2 separate regions of the Homo sapiens genome follow, and region 2 is linked to region 1. Evidence: promoter capture Hi-C in 16 types of primary human blood cells and fetal thymus (Javierre and others, 2016). All regions are on one chromosome and are shown on one strand. The core of a region is centred on a gene start or on the middle of the fragment in contact, and the rest is flanking DNA. Distances in the headings are between cores, read along the strand shown.

Region 1 (3,738 bases), core at 682-3,181:
GCGATCTCGGCTTACTGCAGCCTCTGCCTCCCGAGTTCCAGTGATTCCCCTACCTCAGCCCCCTGGGTAGCTGGGATTACAGGTGCATGCCACCAAGCCCGGCTAATTTTTGTATTTTTAGTAGAGACGGGGTTTCACCATGTTGGCCAGGCTGGCCTCTAACTCCTGACCTCGTGATCTGCCTGCCTCGGCCTCCCAAAGTGCTGGGATTACAGGCATGAGCCACTGCGCCCGGCCATTTATTTTTAATGTAAACATTTTTTTGTAGAGATGAGATCTTGTTATGTTACCCAGTCTGGCCTCAAACTCTTGGGCTCAAGCACTCTTCCAGCCTTGACTCCCCAGAGTGCTGGGATTGCAAGAGTAAGCCACCAGTGCCTGGCTGAATATTTAAATTTAAGATGCTTCCTGATGCAGTGGCTCGCACCTTTGTTTAAATGTCTGCCTTCTCCATGAAGCCTACCTGAGTAGTTTATTTGCATTCCAGCCCATGCTTGATTTTTCTCCAAATACTCAACACCTTGGAATATACAATACTACCTATTTTTTACTTTTATGTATATTTTTGAGACAGGATTTCGCTTCTGGAGTGCATTGGTGTGATCACAGCTCACTGCAGACTGGAACTCCTGGGCTCAAGTGATGTCCCTTCCTCAGCCTCCTGAGTAGCTGGGACTACAGGTGCACACAGCCATGCCCAGTGAATTTTTACATTTCTTGTAGAGACAGGTTCTTGTTATGTTGCCTAGGCTGGCCTTGAACTCTTGGGCTCAAGCCATCCTCCCGCCTCAGCTTCCCAAAGTGCTGGGATTACAGGTGTGAGCCCCTGTGCCTGTCTACATATTTTTTAAAATTTTGAGTGTTGAGGCCAGGCGCAGTGGCTCATGCCTGTAAGCCCAGCACTTTGGGAGGCCGAGGTGGGCGGATCACCTGAGGTCGGGAGTTTGAGACCAGCCTGACCAACATGGAGAAACCCCGTCTCTACTAAAAATACAAAATTAGCCAGGAGTGGTGGCACATGCCTGTGATCCCAGCTACTCGGGAGGCTGAGGCAGGAGAATAGCTTGAACCTGGGAGGCGGAGGTTGCAGTGAGCCCAGATCACGCCATTGCACTCCAGCCTGGGCAACAAGAGCGAAACTCCGTCTCAAAAAAAAAAATTTGTGTGTTGGTTGGGCGCGGTGGCTCACGCCTGTAATTCCAGCACTTTGGGAGGCTGAGGCGGGAGGATCGCTTGAGCTCAAGAGTTCAAGACCAGCCTGGCCAACATGGTGAAACCCCGTCTCTACTAAAAAAATACAAAAATTAGCCGGGTGTGGTGGAGCATGCCTGTGTTCCCAGCTACTCGGGAGGCTGAGGCAGGAGAATTGCTTGAATCCGGGAGGCGGAGGTTGCAGTGAGCCGAGATCGCGCCACTGCACTCCAGCCTGGGAGACAGAGCGAGACTCCGTCTCAAAAAATAATAAAAATAAAAGTAGATTTGTGTGTATGTGGCTTCCTTTACTAGAAGGTAGTTTCATGAAAGTTGGGATTTTTTTCTGTTTTTAGTGCCTGCGTAAAACATAGTCTGGCACAGAATAGGTGTTCAATAAATATTTGTTGAATTTGTGTCGCTGAATGGGAACCCGGTGCAGTGCATTCCAAGCCTGAGCTGGTTCAGGTCCGATGGCGGGGCCTGCCCTTATGAATCATTCATGATCTGGCCCCGCCCATACGCGAACGACGCGCGCGTTCACGCCGGAGAGGGGGCGCGGCTCGCCCCCGGGCTGAGTCGGGCGGCCAGGAAGCGGGACTCTGCGCAGGCGCCAAGCTCCGGAGCGCGGCCTTGGTGCCTTTTCTGGTTTGGCAGGCGCGCGCGCGCGGGAGGGCGGCAACCTCGGCGCTGTGCGCAGGCGCGGCGGGCAGTGCGCAGGCGCGGGCGGAGGGCGGGCTGAAGCAGCTGAAGCGGCGGTAGCGGCGGCGGCTCGGGCAGAGGGGCGGGAGCTGAGGCGGGAGCGGACAGGCTGGTGGGCGAGCGAGAGGCGGCGGAATGGTGGACTACCACGCGGCGAACCAGTCGTACCAGTACGGCCCCAGCAGCGCGGGCAATGGCGCTGGCGGCGGGGGCAGCATGGGCGACTACATGGCCCAGGAGGACGACTGGGACCGGGACCTGCTGCTGGACCCGGCCTGGGAGAAGCAGCAGCGCAAGGTGCGCGGCCCGCGGGCCGGACGGGCTGGAGGGGCTTTTCTGAGGGGGCCCGGGGAGGGGTGGGAGGTCCTGAAAGGTAACTGGAGCGTCTGTGATGGGAACGGGGGGGTCCCGAGAAGGAATTGGCGGGTCCGGGAAGGGAATTGGAGTCCTGAGGAGGAATCGCCGAGCTAGAGGAAGGAATTGGGAATCTGAAAAGAGAATTGGCGGCTGGGTGGGGAATATGGGAGTCAAATAAAAGGAATCGGGAAGGCTGATGAAGGATTTGGAGGGTCTGGGCGTGCCATTAGGGGAAACCGAGGAGATGACTGGGCAGGCTGAAATGGAACTGGGATCCGAGGCGGGCTTGAAGGGTCGGAGCATGGGTTGGGGGTGCTGGGAGGAGAATCAGGGGAGGCTGAGAAGGGAATTTCTGGGTCTGGGAAGTGTGAGGAGGAGCTTGAGTGTGGAGGGGTTGGTTATTTGGAGAGCAGAAAGATCTGAAGGAGATTGGAATTGGGGGAGCCTCAGGTTGGGGGAGTTATAAAGGGGATGAAGAATCAAGTGTGAGGATGGAGTGGAGATTGTGGGGTCTGAAGACGGGTGGGAAGACTAGGGAGGCTGGGAAGATGAAAACAGGGGCTAAGGGTAGAATTGAGCATGAAAAGACATGGGCTTAGGGTGTGAGGAGGGTAGAGGTGCCAGGACTGGGGGTCTGAGGAGGGTGGGGTGCGGAAGGAAGAAGTTAAGGGGCCCGTGAATCAGACGTTTTTGAAGGGGGTGAGATTTATTTGTGGTGCCCTGTTCCAAAGGGGAGAAGATTAAGAGATAGGAGGAATAATAAGAGGAATTGATGAGGGATGGAGAAGCCGAAGTAGAGGGGATACGGAGAGTGGGGATAATTTGGGGAGGGATTTCTAAAGAATTGATGGGAAGCTGAAAAGCTAAAGCGTTGGAGAGAATGAGGAAGTGTAGAGGGAGAAGGTGAGATCGGTGGGAGGGAGGGTGAGCTGGAATGGTGGATAATGGGAGAGAGGTTCGTTTAGGAAAATGAAAGTCTCATTAGAAAGGGAATGCGTAATGGATAGACTGAGAAAGGAATTTGAGGAGGGGGTGCTGGCTCCTGGAGGTGCAGTCCCGGGACTGGAGAGCGTGTGTGTGTCGTGCAGGCAGAATGAGTTTGGGGAGGAAGCGTTGAGAGTGTCCAGGAAGAATTGTGTCTTTTTTGGAGAGACCGGAGGTAGGTGAAGGGATCCTGAAGCAGAGACTGTGTTCAGGTGGCACTGTTTTTTTGGGGGGCGGGGGGGGCAACTTGGTAGGGCCCCACAGCAGTGAAAAGGTGATCAGAAGTGGAGTGGGATCCCCGAGCGAGGTGTCAGTGTCTGTGGGGGGGGGATAAATCCAGTGTGGTTGAGGGGGGAGCTCTGAGTGTGTGCAGGAAGAGCTAAAGAAAGGAGCGTGGTGAGTGGGTGTGTGTGGGGGGAAGGGGTTGTTCAGAAGTTTTGTGCGTGAAATGGGTGGGAGGTACTTGAAGTTGGAAGCATTTCGTGGGATCTGGAGATCTGGATT
Region 2 (3,738 bases), core at 854-3,353, 280 kb after region 1:
TTTCCATCCTACCTCCAGGCTTTTGTATATTCTGGTCCCCTACTTGGGATACTCTTCTTCCCTCTTCCCTGGTGATTTCTCAATCCACAGATCTTTGTTTAATGCCACCTCCTCTGAGAAGTCCTCCCAGGCTGTCCTCCACTTTGCCTTCACAGCATTTACCACAGATTATAATGAGTATATCTGTCTCTATGAATTTGATTACTCTAGGTAGTCAAATTTACCAGAAATTGTAATTAGTATATATGTATAGTTGTATATGTTAAATGTCTTTTAGTGGGGCATGGTGGCTCACATCTGTACTCCTAGCACTTTGGGAGGCCAAGGTGGGTGGATCACTTGAGGTCAAGAGTTCGAGACCAGCCTGGCCAACATGGTGAAACCCCGTCTCTACTAAAAATACAAAAATTATGCAGATGTGGTGGCATGTGCCTGTAATCCCAGCTACTCGGGAGGCTGAGGTGGGAGAATCACTTCAACCTGGGAGGCAGAAGTCGCAGCGCACTCCAGCCTGGGAGACAAGAGCAAAACTCCATCTCAAAAAAAAAATGTCTTTTACTAGACTGTGAACTCAGATCATGAGAGGGCACAGCAGGGTACTTAAGATTGTGGAGTCTGGGTGTGGTGGCTCATGCCTGTAATCTCAGCATTTTGGGAGGCCAGGGTGGGAGGATCACTTGGGCGCAGGAGTTCAAGACCAGCCTGGGCAACATAGTATGTCCCTGTCTCAACAAAAAATACAAAAGTTTAGCCGGGCGTGGTGGTGTCTGCCTGTAGTCCCAGCTACACGGGAGGCTGAGTGGGAGGATTATTTGAGCTCAGGAATTCAAGGTTCCAGTGAGCTATAATTGTACCACTGTACTCCATCCTGCCATCCTGGGCGACAGAACAACACCCTATCTCAAAAAAAAAAAAAAAAAAAGTGGATTCTAGGCCAGAAAGCACAGGTTAAAATTCCCACTCTGCCACTTCCCAGTTGCATGACCTAGCGCAAGTGAATTAGCTTCTCGAAGCCTTAGTTTCCCCTCTGATAAAATGGGAGAAATAATGGCACCTACTTCATAGAGTTGCTGTGAAAATTAAACGAGGTTAAAGTGAATAAAGCACTTCAAACAGGCTGGGAGGGGAGTCCAAGAGAGGAATGGGAAGACGTGGGGACCCCACTATCGTTAGCACCTCAACACAGAGATATTGTGAACCCGGTCCTAATTCCCTTTTATAAGTGCTAGCAATTTTATTATTATTCACCGCATATTTGCAACATCTAGAACACCGGAATATAGCAGTTGCACCTTAAGTATCAGTTTAATAGAACCATTCATTAATGGATTCATTCATTCATTCATTAACTCTATTTAACTGCCTGCTATGTGTGGCGGAGGTGCACAACTCTCCCTACCTCTCTCTCTAAACGCAAGAGCTCCACCACACCCCAGCCCTGACCCCGTCCGATTCACACTTGGCTCCCCATTTTCCTTTGTGGTCTTAGGGAAAGGCTGGCATGAGGTTGCAGCACGGAGGGCAATGTCACATAGCAAGTTCCTAAAGGACAGGAGGTACCCAGCGAGCAGTATGAAACAAGCGCATAATGGGTGTCCAGGACACAGTAGGCATTCTTGGCACATAGTAGGGCCTCAGCACTCACTGGACAACTGGCACATAAGTGGGTGCCATGCACAAGACGTTGGCTAACTTGGGAAATAACTAAAATTCCTACTACAGGTTCGCCCCCTGCCGGAGGGCATCTTGCAAACCCAATTCTTCCGTAAAGCAAACGTCTGCGCCCCCCGGCCGGCGCAGGCGCACTCACGATCGCGGGCAGGTCCGCCGAGCGCAGCTCCCCCTTGCGGAGCTCCAGGGCGTGTGCGGCCTCTTCTGGGCATGCGCAGAACCGCTCTATGTCCAGCTGAGGGAGTGCGCTGTAGCCCTCGCGCGCATACTCGTACAGGAGGTTCCGGTTTCGTTTCTCTGTAGTGAAACTTCTCCTTGGACTATCGTTGGAGATGCAGCCTCCCCGGGGCCGGAACCCCCGACGAGTCAGCAAAGGCCACAAGCGCCGCGCCATGGACGCAGCCATCTTGGACCGGGAACAAGGCGGCACTTCGTCCCGCCCACTCCGCGTTTAGACCAATTGCAAGGCAGCGAACCTGACCGTGACGAGCCAATCAGATCCTGAGGAAAGTTGACCGCGATAGAGTCCTTCGTCGCCCAATCGTCGTCTGTGTCCCGCCTCTTCAGTGACGCGAGGCAGAACCAGCCAATCCCTGCACGGATAGCGCCCGGAAGAGGCTAGAAGCTGGATTCAGCGTGTCCGCGACCTCACCTTTAGGTCCTGTGAGGTCGGTGGAATCCTGGGGTCCTCCAAATCTACCAGGCCATCTCCCCAGTTTCCCAGTTCTTCCTGCGTGCGGGCGAGAGTGGTTGGGCCCTCGGGAACCCACTCAGAGCGAGGCTAAATTTACGGAGGGACTTTCTGTTAGCAGCATGAGGGCCTGTGGTTAGACCTATAGAGGTATTTCCTTTGATTTAAGCCAGAAAGTCCTGAGAGCGGATCGGGGAGCATTTGCGGATCGGTCACTTTTTCCTCCTTTCTGAGTCTCTTATCCCCTACCACAGGGACGGCCCAGGTGGCAGGATGTCCTGGTCTGGCCTTCTCCATGGCCTCAACACGTCCCTAACTTGTGGTAAGTGGGGGACTTGGGCTTCAGGGACGAGGCTAGAGGGGGAGGGTTATTCGCTCTTGGACTTGTGTGCCTCCGTCGGAGCCCCGAGGGAAACGGGGGTGGAAAAACACGGTGGGGTTTTGGCAGAGCTAGGGCTGCTAGAGCAAGAGGTGGGAAGCAGCTGCATGGAGGGCTACTGCGTGTCAAGCGGCGTTTGGGTCAGTTTTATTATTTATTTATTTAAGATCTCCCTCTGTCGCCCAGGCTGAAGTGCAGCGGTGTGATCACAGCTCACTGCAGTCTCGACCTCCTGGGCTCAAGTGATCCTCCCGCCTCAGCCTCCCAAGTAGCTGGGACCACAGGCCTGCAGAACCACAACCAGCTAACTTTTTGATTCTTTGTAGAGAGGGAGGTCTCCCTGTGTCGCCCAGTCTGGCCTTAACTCCTGAGCTCAAGTGACCCTCCACAGCCTCCAAAAGTGCTAGGATTACATGCATGAGCCACTGAGCCTACTATTATTTTAAACAGCATTAAAAATAATGCTTCCTGGCCAGCCGTGGTGGCTCACGCCTGTAATCCCAGCACTTTGAGAGGCCGAGGTCAGGAGTTCGAGACCAGCCTGACCAACATGGTGAAACCCCGTCTCTACTTAAAAATACGAAGATTAGCCGAGCGTGGTGGTGGGTGCCTGTAGTCCCAGCTGCTCAGGAGGCTGAGACAGGAGAATTGCTTGAACCCAGGAGGCAGAGGTTGCAGTGGGCCAAGATTGAGGTACTGCACTCCAGCCTGGGCGACAGAGTGAGACTTTGTCTCAAAAAAAAAAAAGAAAAAAAAAAAAAAGGTAATGCTTCCTTGAAGAATAAAGAGTTACTTTTGTCTGTAGATAACATTAGATGTGAACAAATGCATCTTTGTAAAGTGCTTTAAACAATGCCTAAAACACCAAAATTGAGTTGCTACTACTCTAAGATCTGTTCTCTGGGATAATAACCCCTTTCGGCCCTCTCCAGGCCCAGCTCTGGTTCCCCGGCTCTGGGCTACCTGCTCCATGGCTACCCTGAACCAGATGCACCGC

Evidence for each region. Contacts are between HindIII fragments. The CHiCAGO score rates a contact against its expected background, and 5 or more counts as called.
Region 2: a contact is called between the fragment with the promoter of SARS2 here and the fragment with the promoter of ACTN4 in region 1, in 1 of 17 cell types (naive CD4 T cells). The highest score is 5.1, in naive CD4 T cells.

Annotation. Positions count from the first base shown.
Region 1 is chr19:38,645,718-38,649,455 of GRCh38, forward strand. It overlaps ACTN4 (actinin alpha 4), which reads left to right and starts at 1,932. Exons shown (of 21, transcript NM_004924.6): 1 at 1,932-2,190. The coding sequence starts at 2,029. RefSeq lists silencers at 1,772-1,961, 2,192-2,271, 3,455-3,653, 3,612-3,738 and an enhancer at 3,612-3,738. The HindIII fragment of the contact is 8,558 bases long and covers 1-3,738 here.
Region 2 is chr19:38,928,660-38,932,397 of GRCh38, forward strand. SARS2 (seryl-tRNA synthetase 2, mitochondrial) reads right to left here and starts at 2,104. Exons shown (of 16, transcript NM_017827.4): 1 at 1,811-2,104. The coding sequence starts at 2,077. It overlaps MRPS12 (mitochondrial ribosomal protein S12), which reads left to right and starts at 2,285. Exons shown (of 3, transcript NM_033362.4): 1 at 2,285-2,339; 2 at 2,617-2,684; 3 at 3,674-3,738. The coding sequence starts at 2,636. RefSeq lists an enhancer at 1,729-2,188. The HindIII fragment of the contact is 9,584 bases long and covers 1-3,738 here.